Linked DNA regions of Homo sapiens: region 2 is linked to region 1. The links are contacts of gene promoters, found by promoter capture Hi-C in blood cells and fetal thymus (Javierre and others, 2016). All regions are on one chromosome and are shown on one strand. Each heading gives the region's core, a stretch centred on a gene start or on the middle of the fragment in contact. The rest is flanking DNA. Distances are from core to core; before and after follow the strand shown.

The links. Contacts are between HindIII fragments. The CHiCAGO score rates a contact against its expected background, and 5 or more counts as called.
Region 2: the fragment with the promoter of HSPA2 here is called in contact with the fragment with the promoter of MTHFD1 in region 1 in 2 of 17 cell types (monocytes and naive CD4 T cells); the score reaches 5.0 in monocytes.

Annotation. Positions count from the first base shown.
Region 1 is chr14:64,383,899-64,391,260 of GRCh38, reverse strand. MTHFD1 (methylenetetrahydrofolate dehydrogenase, cyclohydrolase and formyltetrahydrofolate synthetase 1) reads right to left here and starts at 2,908. Exons shown (of 28, transcript NM_005956.4): 1 at 2,793-2,908. The coding sequence starts at 2,833. RefSeq lists enhancers at 3,056-3,145, 3,666-3,725, 3,746-3,845. The HindIII fragment of the contact is 3,471 bases long and covers 121-3,591 here.
Region 2 is chr14:64,537,313-64,544,674 of GRCh38, reverse strand. HSPA2 (heat shock protein family A (Hsp70) member 2) reads right to left here and starts at 3,934. Exons shown (of 1, transcript NM_021979.4): 1 at 1,438-3,934. The coding sequence starts at 3,825. The coding sequence ends at 1,906. It overlaps HSPA2-AS1 (HSPA2 and ZBTB1 antisense RNA 1), which reads left to right and starts at 4,307. Exons shown (of 4, transcript NR_110550.1): 1 at 4,307-4,358. RefSeq lists an enhancer at 3,790-3,899 and a silencer at 4,070-4,159. The HindIII fragment of the contact is 4,009 bases long and covers 1,907-5,915 here.

The DNA of each region.
Region 1 (7,362 bases), core at 1,659-4,158:
CCCAGGAAGTGGAGGTTACAGTGAGACAACATCGTGCCATTGCACTCCAGCCTGAGCAACAGAGCAAGACCTTGTCTGAAAAATAAAAAGAAAGAAAGAAAGAAAAGAAAAAGAAAAGCTTACGAAATTCCTTTTAGCAAGTAGTAAGTGCTGGTTAGAATGAAAAACATCATATACTGGGTGAAGACCTTAGTTTTAGTTGAGCCATTGCCATTCACCCTTGGACAAATCACATCACTTTTCTGGCCTCAAATGATTTCCTAATCCGCAGGATGGAATGTGGGAAGTGGGCTGGATTTTTAAGAAATTCTAGGACCGGTGCAGTGGCTCATGCCTGTAATCCCAGCACTTTGGGAGGCCGAGGTGGGTGGATCACATGGGGTCAGGAGTTACAGACCAGCCTGACCAACATGGTGAAAGCCCGTCTCTACTAAAAATACAAAAATTAGCCGGACGGGGTGGCACACACCTGTAGTCTCAGCTACTCGGGAGGCTGAGGCAGGAGAATCGCTTGAACCTGGGAGGTGGAGGTTGCAGTGAGCCAAGATCATGCCATTGCACTCCAGCCTGGGCAACAAGAGTGAAACTCTGTCTCAAACAAACAAACAAACTAGCTGGACATGGTGGCGGACGCCTGTAATCCCAGCTACTTGGGAGGCTGAGGCAGGAGAATCGCTTGAACCCAGGAGGCAGAGGTTGCAGTGAGCCGAGATCACGCCATTGTACTCCAGTCTGGGCGACGAGTGAAACTCCATCTCAAAAAAAAAAATTAGCTAGGCGTGATGGCGGGCACCTGTAATCCCAGGTACTCAGGAGGCTGATATGAGAGAATTGCTTGTATGCAGGAGGCAGAGGTTGCAGTGAGCCAAGATTGGACACAGCAAGACTTCATCTCAAAAAAAAAAATAGATCTCAAGGCAGCAGCTACCATGTAAAAAAAAAAAAAGATAATGAATCATTCATATATACATTAACTAATTACTGATTATTAATACAACATATATCGAATACTTATTATGTGCCAGGAAGAATTATAAATGATCATCTGTTAGGAACCCATTTAATTCTACTAACATCCCAATGACCTAGACATTACTTTTACTTAACATTTGAGGAAACTTTGGCACAGAAAGGTTAATTAATTTGCTTAAAACCACACAAGTAGTAAGGCAGGAAACAGGGTTTCCAGGTGTTTAGGATATAGACAAAAATAAGACAATACATGTATTTGCCCTTATGGAGTTGATAAACATATTTAATTTGCTCTCCAATTAACGAAAGTATATTCAGTGAGCACCTATTCTCAGTACTGGCCCAGATGCATTATTATTGTACTAAATTATCTGCACTATTATTATGCACTAAATTATCTCTTCACAATCAGTCTTTCTAAAAGGAAGATTTTTATATTAAAACAAAAAGCCACTGGAAAAGGAAGTAAGTTTGAATACAAGCAAACAAAAACAGAAAGTAAAGCAGAAATACAGTTTAGCAAGCCACATGTTGAAAAGCACTAAGCAGTAAGTATTGTGATTTCTTTTTTTTTTTTTCTTAGACGGAGTTTCGCTCTTGTTGCCCAGGCTGGAGTGCAATGGCGCATCTCAGCTCACTGCAACCTCTGCCCCCCAGGTTCAAGTGATTCTCCTGCCTCAGCCTCCCAAGTAGCTGGGATTACAGATGCCTGCCACCACACTCGGCTAATTTTTTGTATTTTTAGTAGAGATGGGGTTTCACCATTTTGGATAGGCTGGTCTTGAACTCCAGACCTCAGGTGATCCACCCACCTCGGCCTCCCAAAGTGCTGGGATTACAGGCATGAGCCACTGGGCCCGGACTTTTCACCACCGATGACTTTGTAATTCACTCAAAAACCTATTACAAAGTTAGGAGTTACAGGACAATTACAATTTAGTAACTGCTGTGGCTGGCAACAGTTACTTACATAACGGGTGATGTGAAAGGTCCCAAGAGCAAACTCAGTAAGGTCACACAGAATATATCTTTCCCTCCTTCATCTACTAGAGGGAATATATTTTTCCCTCTTCCTTCTACTCTCATTTTTCCTCACCAGTCACCTCCCAGACAAAAAGCAGCCAGTGTTACTTCCTGGGAGTAAAGCTGGCAACGATACCCACTAATTAAGCATTCAGATGTCCCGCAAGGGTAGAACAGGCAGAGGTCAAGTGGAATGCAGAATATTCTCAGGACTCAGGAGCCAAATTACGTTTCAAGTAACTCTAGGACCAGGGCAGAGAGATGGCTGTTAGAGAGAAGCACGAGATTGAAGAGAAAGGAAAAATGTATTAGATTTCACTTAGCGTATGATAAGACTATGGTATAGTGGGAAAAGCTATGAGCTGGAAGGACCCTCTGTCATTATCAGCCTTGTAGTCTTGTCAAGCCTTGTCACCTCACTAGTCTCCATCTACTCACCTCCAAATTAACGGGAATTAAGTAGATTGGATTTCTGAGTTCTGACTAGGGGGGCTCCAGGAAGCCGCAACTACCCACTCTCCCGGCAGAAAGTCACCAGCAGCTGCGCGTTTGGGAGCATAGTCGGCACAGGACTTTTCCCCGAAGCACAGGAGCCAGCGGCTACAGCCACTAGGCAGTCCACTTGCAAACGCAGGTTGTGCCCGGGTTCTCTTTCTTTGGCTGCAGGTCTTCAGGTGTTATGGGCCTAACTCTTCCGCTACAAGTGTCCCTCCCGCAAAAAATGGGTCCGGGGGACCTGCACACCCTCAGAGCCCTCGTCCACAGCCCCACACTCAACAACAATGTCAGGTGCTTACGCGGAGATCTCCTTCCCGTTCAGGATTTCTGCTGGCGCCATGGCCTTTATTAGTCCGCTGCCCACGATGGACACCACCAATATCGAGGTTCCACTCCCTCCGCAGCCAAGCAGGACAACCCAACCCACGTGCTTAGGGACTGGCCAGGGGATCACACTACTGCGCCTGCGCCCCTGCCCGCTTCTCCCCCTGCAGACGCGGTGGCGCATGCGCAGTTCGGAAGGACCCGAGTCCCTTAACTAACCGAGAGCTAACAGGTCGGGGACTGCGGGACGGAAGAGGGAGGGGAAGATGAAGAAAATCGGTGATGAATGGCTGGCGGAAATGATTGGCGGAAAGAAAGAGCCAGTTCACAGTGCGCCTTTGTATTCGGCGGGAAACCCGGCCGAAGAGGGAGCTGGAAAGGACTCCGGAATCCGGCCGTAATTCCAGCCAATCAGGGAGTAGAGTTGCGGGGCGGGGTTGGGGCGGGGCAGTCTCGCGGGAGATAGTTTCGCGGGTTCGGGAGGCGAGTCTCCGGTTTCCGCCCAGTCTCTGGGGACGCGGTGGCGGGGTCTGAATCGCCTGGCTTCCAGGGAGTTTTGGGCGGGTCCCCGCACGGGAGCGTGGCAGGCGCTGGACTCGACAGCAGATGTGGAACTGGAGAGCTTGGCGCGCCCTCATACTTTGTCACACACCTACGCCACCAGACTGGGGTCGGGCCCCTCCGCGTTCTGCTCTGGAGGGCCTGGGTCTGGGCCCAGCATAGCGCTTTTAGAATCTCCTCAGCTGAATCTGACGCTCAGCCGTAGGTGAAGCTTAGCCCGCTGTTTCAGGCCCCGCCGATCTGGAAGGAGTGTCAGAGCTGGAGCGCGCGTGGCCTCATCGGTGTTGGGGTCACCCCGGGGTTGCCAGGGCTCATGGAGGGTCGTAGTCTGGATTTTGTCACCCCCACGTCCCCGCCCCGCAGCAAGTCTGGGGTTGGAGAACTCACGCGGTCTTCGTAAGCTACATGCCAGTTGACCCTCGAGGAGGGATGCTCCCTCCCCTTAAGCGTCCACGCTGGAGAAGGAGTAAGATGGACAATTGCCTGGGGAGCCTGACAGGGCGGTGGCAGCTGGGATGCTGGAGAGGACTGGCCCCTTGTGTTACTGAGTCCAAGGAATATGCTTGCTCTGCTCTAGGAACCGCGTTCAGGTTACAGTCATCCCAGTAGAGTCCTGAAGATGCGTGGTTCAGGTCACTTAGGACTTGACCAGATACCGGGTTTCTTTTACAAGCCGTTTACTACTGGCAGAGCTCATCTAAAACTTTTTTTGTTTGTTTGTTTGAGACGGAGTCTCATTCTGTCGCCCAGGCTGGAGTGCAGTGGCACGATTTTGGCTCACTGCAACCTCCGCTTCCCGGGTTCAAGCAGTTCTCTGCCTCAGCCTCCCGAGTAGCTGGGATTACAGGCACCACCTAATTAGCCCGCCACCACGCCCGGCTAATTTTTGTATTTTTAGTAGAGACGGGGTTTCACCATCTTGGCTAGGCTGGTCTTGAACTCCTGACCTCGTGATCCACCCGCCTCGGCCTCCCAGAGTGCTGGGATTACAGGCGTGAGCCACCGCACCTGGCCTAAAACTGATTTTTTATTAATTTTGGGGCTTTTAATATTTTTTTCTTATTTCTAAATTCTGAGGTTATTTATAGTAGCCCCATATACGGGATTAGATAATCTCTTGTGATTTTCTATTTCTGGTAATTATTTCTAATATATGTTTTTTTGTTTTTGAGACGGAGTCTCGCTATGTCGCTCAGGGTGGAGTGCAGTGGCATGATCTCCGCTCTTTGTAGCCTCTGCCTCCCGGGTTCAAATGATCCTCCCACCTCAGCCCCCCGAGTAGCTTGGACCACAGGTGCATGCCACCACGCCGGCTAATTTTTCTATTTTTGGTAGAGTTGGGGTTTCACTATGTTGACCAGACTGGTCTAGATCTCAAGGGATTAGTCTCCCTTGGCCTCCCAAAATGCTGGGATAATGGGCATGAGCCACCGTGCGTGGCCTTAAAGTTACTATTCTTAAAGTTTGCACAAGTGATATGTTAAAGGCACAGACTTAGTAATATAATGTCATTATAATAATAACCCTAAAACACATTGTCTCATATTGTGTTGTACCTAAACAAGTGAAATTAAGAAGAAAATTGAAGGAAATGTTTCTGGTAAATTGCAGATAGTGAATCTTTTGTCTTATACTATCAAATAGGTATTGACTATTCCAGCTTTCTTATTTGTTGAGGAAGATGGCAGAAATCCCGTTTTACAGAGGGATAGACTTTGAAGGATAATACCCAAAGCTGCATAGCTGTGGCTGGTATAGGCCCCAAACCTGATGTTTCTTCTCTAAATCTACTGCCTTTGCCATCTCAACAGCCTGGTTTTTGACAGTTATCTATGTATGAGTTGCATAAATCGTTCATTCATGGAGCAAATAATTATTGAGTGGCCACTATGCCAACAGCACTGCTATAGATGCTAGAGATACCCTAGTGAACCAGCAAAGTTTCTGCTCTCAGCTCATATTCTGGTGGAGGAGACAACGATCAAGTTAAAGAAATACATAGGCTAATTTTAGAGATTATGACATGCTATATTTTAAAAATAGGCAAGCTAAGAGGATAGGCAGTGATGCTGGGAGGTGGGAAAGTTTTGTCTCAGAAATGTGGTAAGAGATTTCTTTGGGCATCTGACTTCAGCAGAAACCTTAATGAAGAGAGGAACTTGGAATGTAAAAGAAAGAAAGCAGGGATTTGCTCTGAGCAACTGGAAAGATGGAATTGCCATTCGCTGAGTTGAAATAAAGTAAAATGTAGGACTAGGTTTTGGGGTTAAGATTATGAATTCGGCTTTAGACATTTTTAGATTTCTCTTAGACATCCAAATGGAGAGAAGATATTTAAATCCATGGGATTGAATGAGATCCAACCAAGGGTATTGTAGGTAGAGAGAGGACCAAAGACTGACACCTAGAACCTTTCAGTGTTCAGAATGCAAGGAGACAGGAGGAACCAAGAGGGAAGATTGAAAAGGAGAGTCCAGCTGGGAGCTGTGGCTACACCTTTACTAATCCCAGCACTTTGGGAGACCAAATACAGGAAGATCACTTGAATCCAGGAGTTTGTAGAACAGCCTTAGCAACATAGCAAGACCCTGTCTCTACAAAAATAAAAATTAAAAAATTTGCCTGTAATCCGAGCATTTTGGAGGCCGAGGTGGGTGGATCAGCTGAGGTCAGGAGTTTGAGACCAACTTGGCCAACACAGTGAAACCCCGTCTCTACTAAAAATACAAAAATTAGCTGGGCGTGATGGCTGGCACCTGTAATCCCAGCTACTCGGGAGGCCGAGGCAGGAGAATCCCTTGAACCTAGGAGGCAGAGGTTGCAGTGAGCCGAGATCACGCCACTGCACTCCAGCCTGGGAGACAGAGCGAGACTCCATCTCAAAATAAATAAATAAATAAAAATTTAAAAAGTTAGCTGGGCGTGGTGGCATGTACCTGTAGTCCCAGTTACTCAGAAGGCTGAGGTGGGAGGATCCTGTGAGCCTAGGAGTTGGAAACTTCAGTAAGCTATAATCATCACACTGCACTCCAACCTAGGCAACAGAGCAAGACCCTGTCTCTTAAAAGGAAAGGAGAGTCCAGTGTGTTCTAAGGAAAACCCCAAGAGCATCCCACCTTAGAATACAAGTGAGGAGGCCTGGCATGGTGTCTCATGCCTGTAATCCCAGCACTTTGGGAGGCCAAGGTGGGTGGATCACTTGAGGTCAGGAGTTCTAGACCAGCCTGACAAACATGGCGAAACCTCCGTCTCTATAAAAATACAAAAATTAGCCAGGTGTGGTAGCGCGTGCCTGTAATCCCAGCTACTAGGGAGGCTGAGGCAGGAGAACTGCTTGAACTCAGGGGGCAGAGTTTGCAGTGAGCCGAGATAGTGCCACTGCACTCCAGCCTGAGCAACAGAGTGAGACTCTGTCTCAAAAACAAACAAGTAAACAAACAAAAAAAAAAACAAGACAAGTGAAGAATGTGTTTCATGGAAAAAGAGGTAATTAATTCTGTCAAGTGTTGCAAATTGGTCAAATAAAGAATGAAAATCAACCTTTCACAGCAAATAGAAGGAAAAAATATTTTTATTTAAATGCTTATAAAGGCAGTTGCTAGAAAAAATGTTTACTTTTTGCAGAGGCCCCGTTTTTACAACCTTTTTCAGGGGTAATTTGATATGATAATATCTACGGGAAAAAAAATGTTTTTTTTTTTGAGTCGCTCTGTCACCAGGCTGGAGTGCAGTGGCATGATCTCGGCTCACTGAAACCTCCGCCTCCCAGGTTCAAGCAATTCTTCTGCCTCAGCCTCCCAAGTAGCTGGGACTACAGGTGGGCGCCACCACACCCAGCTAATTTTTGTATTTTTAGTAGAGACGGGGTTTCACCATGTTGGCCAGGATGGTCTCAATCTTGACCTCGTGATCTGCCTTCCTTGGCCTCCCAAAGTGCTGGGATTGGTACAGGTGTGAACCACCATACCTGGCCCGAAAATTTTA
Region 2 (7,362 bases), core at 2,685-5,184, 150 kb before region 1:
ACAATTAACCTGATTTTGTAGTACCATAGTAGTTTGTCACATATTTATGCCTGTAGTCCATGAAACACCCTTAAATGCTCATTGCTGAAAAATTTCCACCAATGTGACACCAGCACTGATAAATTGGAGTTATCTTTAGCTTTTCAGAGTATAAAAAGCAGTTTCCTTTAAAAAAAAAAAAAGGTTTTTATGTTGAAGCAATTTCACTGTTGGCTATTTATCTTCCTCCCCCCTACCCAAATGAGGCTTGCTAAAAAGGAAAAAAAAAAAAACACCTTATGTGTACTTAAGAGTCAACTCTTGTATGAAAGGGTCATTACCAAAGGCCAGTATTCTTAGGCTAACTTCTTAGCTAGTTTTAAAATTATTACTCATTCCATTATTCATAAAATTAATCTCTCTGAATGACACAGATGGGTCCACTACTAAATTGAAGATAAAGCTTTCATAACTATTGTCTTATGAGCAGCATGAAGCAAACCTGCATCATGTGGAAAGATATCAAAACGTCTATGTGCAGTAAAAACATTAGGTTAACTATGCATTTTCCTATTGGTTTTACTGAATTTCTCTCAAGTTCTCCTTAAAGAGAGTAAGAAAAGAGTAGTCATGTCATTTCACTAAAAAATAAAAATGAATTCCTTTCTCTGAAGGATGTGAATTTTAAAGATTAAGTCCAGGATAGTGGATCACCAAAGGGTTGCAATATTCTTATCTATAACAATCTCAAATTGGATATGGAGGAAAATGGACAAGTTGTATATTAACAAAATACAAGACTATCTAGTACAGTTTGCCTTTTAAAAAAGAAATCTATCGTAGTGATTTAAGGCAAGTATTGCAAAAACGTTATGATCCCCAAACCAGAAAAAAATAATAATAATTATGTTTCCCTACCCAAGTAATTCTAACTGCGGGAAACATGTTATTAGAATTTGCCATAAGCTCAGAAGTTGAGCTGTTTTACTAGAAAATTAAACAAGTTTGACTAAATTTATACTCACTATTAAGTCACTTGAAAGCTTGCCTGCTGTCTCTTGTTTCAGGCTCCTGTATGTCACAAAATTAATTTGTTTCCATATTTCCTTTGGCAATTATAAGACAACTTCTGCCCAGCTTTTGTTAAAGGCTCATTTTACATTTAACCCCAGAATATAGCTCATATTTTCCTGGAATATTCAGGTGAATTTTCATTTGGACACTTAAGTTGTAGGAGTGTGAGTACACTAGGAAGACCCCAAGTCAGGTTTCTGTATTTAAGGGTGGGTGAAGTTTACCCAGATTCTTCTCCCCTTAAGTTGTTGGAATTCAAGGCAGCACCCTCATCTGGGAATTAAACAAGATTGGTTAGATAAATTTCACATCATACTAACATCTTAAAAGACGAATATGGGTAAAATATAAAGGAAGGAAAATTGAAAACTCCAAGACAGTAACTTTGAGATCAATTTCAGCTTTACTTTACATTTGCATTTATGCATTTGTTTGCAAAAAGTATACCTGTCCTTAACATTACTGCAATGTTCAGTTTAGTTTTAAAGTAGTACATAAAAATAAACAATTTAAGCTCCTATATATTTTACTGTTTCCAAGCTTCTACAGAACAGGTGTGCAAACTTAAGGTTTCTCATCTCAAACAAATCTCCATGCACGAACTAATCAAAAATGCTCAAGTCAGCAAACACGCAAAATGCATTAAAGAGAAACCTCGAATAATGTTTTTAAAAAACAAACTTTGGAACTTTTATAATTAAACTAAGTTGTTGCACCTCTCCTTTCATTTGCATATACCAAAGACTTCCAACAATAGATCTCGTACTTGGCACAAGGACATTTCAAAGAAACAAACAAAAAAAAAGAGAGAGAGAGAAAGGCAAAGAGGTTTACGCTGACTTGAGTGCAAGCTTAGTCCACTTCTTCGATGGTGGGTCCCCCGGAGGCTCCTGAACCGCCGCCGCCGCTGCCGCCGCCAGGACCACCTTGGTAAAGTTTGCTGATGATGGGGTTGCAAACTCTTTCGAGCTCTTTCTGCTTGTGTTCATACTCATCTTTCTCTGCCATCTGGTTTCGGTCGAGCCAGTTGATCACCTCCTGACACTTGTCGAGGATCTTGTTTTTGTCCTGCTCGCTAATCTTGCCCCTCAGTTTCTCGTCTTCCACCGTCTGCTTGATGTTGTAGGTATAGGACTCCAGGGCGTTTTTGGCCGCGACTCGGTCGCGATTCGCCTCATCTTCCGATTTGTACCGCTCCGCCTCCTGCACCATCCGGTCAATGTCGTCCTTGCTCAGACGACCTTTGTCATTGGTGATGGTGATTTTGTTTTCCTTACCGGTGCTCTTGTCGGCGGCGGTAACGTTAAGGATGCCATTGGCGTCAATGTCGAAGGTAACCTCGATTTGGGGGACCCCGCGAGGCGCAGGGGGAATCCCGGTCAGGTCGAACTTGCCCAGCAGGTTATTGTCCTTGGTCATGGCCCGTTCGCCCTCGTATACCTGCACCAGTACGCTGCTCTGGTTGTCCGAGTAGGTGGTGAAGGTCTGCGTCTGCTTGGTGGGGATCGTGGTGTTCCTCTTGATGAGTGGGGTCATGACACCGCCAGCTGTCTCGATGCCCAGCGACAACGGGGTCACGTCGAGTAGCAGCAGGTCCTGCACATTCTCTGATTTGTCGCCGATGAGGATGGCCGCCTGCACCGCGGCGCCATAGGCCACCGCCTCGTCGGGGTTGATGCTCTTGTTCAGCTCCTTGCCGTTGAAGAAATCCTGCAGCAGCTTCTGGATCTTGGGGATACGAGTGGAGCCGCCCACCAGCACGATCTCCTGGATCTGGCCCTTGTCCAGCTTGGCGTCGCGCAGCGCCTTCTCCACCGGCTCCAGGGTCCCGCGAAAGAGGTCGGCATTGAGCTCCTCGAAGCGGGCGCGCGTGATGGACGTATAGAAGTCCACGCCCTCGTAGAGCGAGTCGATCTCGATGCTCGCCTGCGTGGACGAGCTCAGGGTGCGCTTGGCGCGCTCGCAAGCGGTGCGCAGCCGCCTCACGGCGCGCTTGTTGGGCCCAATGTCCTTCTTGTGCTTGCGCTTGAACTCCTCCGCCAGGTGGCTCACCATGCGGTTGTCGAAGTCCTCACCGCCCAGGTGGGTGTCGCCGGCCGTGGACTTCACCTCGAAGATGCCATCCTCGATGGTCAGGATGGACACGTCGAAAGTGCCACCGCCCAGGTCAAAGATGAGCACGTTCTTCTCGCCGCCCGCGCAGCCCTTCTTGTCCAGGCCGTAGGCGATGGCCGCCGCCGTGGGCTCGTTGATGATGCGCAGCACATTGAGCCCCGTGATGGTGCCTGCGTCCTTGGTGGCCTGGCGCTGCGAGTCGTTGAAATAGGCCGGGACCGTTATGACCGCGCTGTGCACCTTGCCCCCCAGGTAGGCTTCCGCGATCTCCTTCATCTTCGTGAGGACCATGGAGGATATCTCCTCTGGGAAGAAGGTCTTGGTCTCCCCCTTGTACTCTACTTGCACTTTGGGCTTGCCTCCCTCGCTCACCACCCGGAACGGCCAGTGTTTCATATCCGACTGCACTGTGGCATCCTCGAATTTCCGTCCAATCAGCCTCTTGGCGTCGAAGATGGTGTTGGTGGGGTTCATGGCCACCTGGTTCTTGGCGGCGTCGCCGATGAGGCGCTCGGTGTCCGTGAAGGCCACGTAGCTGGGGGTGGTGCGATTGCCCTGGTCGTTGGCGATGATCTCCACCTTGCCATGTTGGAAGACCCCGACGCACGAATAGGTGGTGCCCAGGTCGATGCCGATAGCCGGGCCACGGGCAGACATCCTGACTGAAAGGCGAGCGACGTTAGGACGGGAAAACCAGGGAGATGAACTCCGCGGAGTCAACTAACGGCCACCTCGAACCAAGCACCACGGGCACTACCAGCAACTCAGCTCCCCGCGCCCAGTTCCCGGTTCTTATAGCCGCCTCTGGGAACTCCCAGACCCAATCCGCTCCCGGGACCGCCCTCACAAACTCTTCCAGCTCCACCACAGGCTTGCCTAGGTCGGAGTGACTGGCCCGTGACCCAACAGATTTCAAGTTGGACGAGGGGCGGGACTCCGGCCCCCGCCAGGAGACAGAGGGGCGGCCGTTATGTAAATGAGGTTCCTCCCTGACTCTCGGCCGCCAGGCCGTGGTGCCTCGCGCGCCTCCTGCTGCTGGCTGGCGTTAGGCGCGCGCTCCCAGAGCCAGGTGTACGCGCTTTTTCGCGGTCTTTGCCCTAGCCGACGTGCATCGGATTGGCAGGGCACGCGGCCAATGAGCAGTGCGGACTGAGGCGCGGCACGGGGAGGAGGCGTGGAAGGGGATCCCGGTGAGGAGAGCCACTGGGAGAGTTCGCTCAATTCCTGAGGTTTTAAATGCAGTTCACTGCTAGGGTGCCGACTCACTGAGCACGCAGGGGCGGAGGAATTCATTCTGAGTTGGTTGCACCGAAGAAATAAAGCTCGAGCAGCTTGTTTTCCCCGGCGCCGTCCAAGGGGAGGGAATAGGGAATTGGGGTGGCTGGGGTGGGGGGTGAGGGCGGATCCCTTGGACGGGGATTAAAGAAAAGAAAAAGTCTGAACCGGCGGTCGGCCTCCTGGGATTTTATGGTGGGTGCTTCACTGCGTCTCAGTGGTTGTGAGCGCTCGATTAAAACTGCCTGGCTGGGGCCGGGCGCAGTGGCTAACGCCTGTAATCCCAGCACTTGGGAGGCCGAGGCGGCCGGATCACGACGTTAAGACATCGAGACCATCCTGGCCAACATGGTGAAAGCCCGTCTCTACTAAAGATACAAAAATTAGCTGGGCGTGGTGGCGCGTGCCTGTAGTCTCAGCTACTCGGGAGGCTGAGGCAGGAGAATCGCTTGAACCCGGGAGGTGGAGGTTGCAGTGAGCCGAGATCACGCCACTACACTCCAGCCTGGGCGACTGAGCGAGACTCCGTCTCAAAAAAAACAAAAAAAAACCCCACTGCCTGGCGGGCGGAGAGAACCTGAGCCCAGGGCGAGGCCGACCGTTTTCCCGCGCCGCGTGAGGGCGGCTGGCGGGACGGCAGACAGGGGTGTGGCGGCGACTTGTCCTCCGAGGAGCCTGCATTTAAACCCTTCCTGCCTCACTCTTCCTTTTTCCTGTTTGTCCTGCCGCTTTAAACTCTGGTTTCGCCTTCCTGTTCATTCCATTGCTTATTTTAGGTCGCAAGTGCTTTATCCACTGCTTTGAGTTTTTGACTGGAAAACCCATAATATAATCAGTCAAAACCCACACGTTGAAACACCATAAAGTCACCCAGTCTCGGTCACCCTGGCACACACGGGGTTGTGATCGTGACCTAGTCATGTTTCTGACTCCGCTCAATGGAATGGAATGATTTTCTTTGGCTGTGCTGAGGTTAATATTGGAGGCATAAACCCTCCGAGAAGGTAGATGAAAAGGAGCGCGATTCACTTCCTCCTGTTTAACAGGAATGTGAGGACAGGTCTGGAAAATACCCTGGCACCAGGTAATAATCTTTAGAAGCAGGCTCCCATATAAATGGGCTCCTGGACGGGTGTGGAGGCTCATGCCTGTAGTTTCAGCACTTTGAAAGGCCGCGGTAGGTGGATCACTTGCTGTCAGAAGTTCGAGGCCAGCCTGGCCAACATGGTGAAACCCCGTCTCTACTAAAAATACAAAAATTAGCCGGGCGTGGTGGCGCGCGCCTGTAGTCCCAGCTACTCGAGAGGCAGAGGTTGCAGTCAGTCGAGATTGCGACACTGCACTCCAGCCTGGGCGACAGAACGAGACTCCGTCTCAAAAAAATAAAATAAATGGTCTCCAGGAGGAAGCAAAGACAGCGATCACTTTACATAATATGTGTGGGGAGGCTGGGGAAGTCCTTCCATCAAGCTTGAACAGGTACCTACTACGTGGCAGTAAAAAGCCAAATGAAATGGCCTGGTCTTCAGAGGTGGAGAGTCTAATAAACAGGTAAACATAATTTGGGAGAAGCGCTGAAAGCAAAGCGCCATGGGAACACAGAGGGGCACACCCAGGCTGATGGAAAAGTGCGTTGCTGAGAGCTACCTGGAAGAGGTGGCATGCCTAATCCGGGAGCTGAAGTTCGCCAGCAAAGAGTAGGAAAGCCATTCTTTACATAGGTTGTGTATGGGCGAAGATGAGAGCAATGTTTGCTGGACTAGGATTTCTGTACAGAAGATTAGTGTCACTAGAAGGGAGGGATACAGGCAAGCAATAGGCTCTTCAGGTGGATAGGATACATCTCAGAGCTTTTTGAGCCATGGTCTTTTTCCTGAGGCTTTGGGCTGGGAGCACCGTCCTTTAAAGCAGGCTAGTGATGTGCAGCCATGTAAAAGCTGTATGAAATGGCGCTGGAGAAAAGCTTTTGTCAACCCAGAAGTTATCTGTGACCAAAAAGTAATGTTGAGAGAATTCTATAAAGTCAATGAACATTTAAGATTATTTTATCTAGTGGTGTATATCATTTCCAGTTTTTAAGAACATAATTGGTTATTAATCGGTTAATGTCATCAGTTAGTACTAATTTTAACCATAATTCCTATCCTCTTTTCCATGAATTTGAAAAAATTTTGAAAAAGGGGACGTTTTAAAGAAAATATTAGAAAGGCTGGACGCGGTGGCTCATGCCTGTAATCCCAGCACTTTGGGAGGCCGAGGCGCGTGGATCACGAGGTCAGAAGTTCAAGACCAGCCTGGCCAAGATGGTGAAACCCTGTCTCTACTAAAAATACAAAAATTAGCCGGGCCTGGTGGTGGGCGCCTGTAATCCCAGCTACTTGGGAGGCTGAGGCAGAGGATTGCTTGAATCCGGGAGGCAGAGGTTGCAGTGAGCTGAGATCACGCCACTGCACTCCAGCCTGGGCGACAGAGCAAGACTCTGTCTAAAAAAAAAAAGAAAAAGAAAAGAAAATATTAGGAAAACAAGGATAAAACCCAGACTTTTCTAATTGAAACTGTCATAAATTGTGAGTACAGATCTCTTGATTTTATTCTTGGAAATTCTTGTCTTTTGTGTAGTTTGGGGGTGGGGGGTATTTGTTTGGTTTTTTTTGAGACAGAGTCTTGTTCTGTCGCCAGGCTGGAGTGCAGTGGCTCACTGCAACCTCTGCCTCCTTGGTCCAAGAGATTGTCGTGCCTCAGCCTTCCAGATAGCTGGGTTACTTATGTGCACCAGCACGTCCATCTAATTTTTATATTTTTGGTAGAGACAGGGTTTCACCATGTTTGCCAGGCTGTTCTCGAACCCCTGACTTCAAATTGTCTGCCCATCTTGGCCTCCCAACGTGCTGGGATTACAGGCCTGAGTTTTTCTTCTCT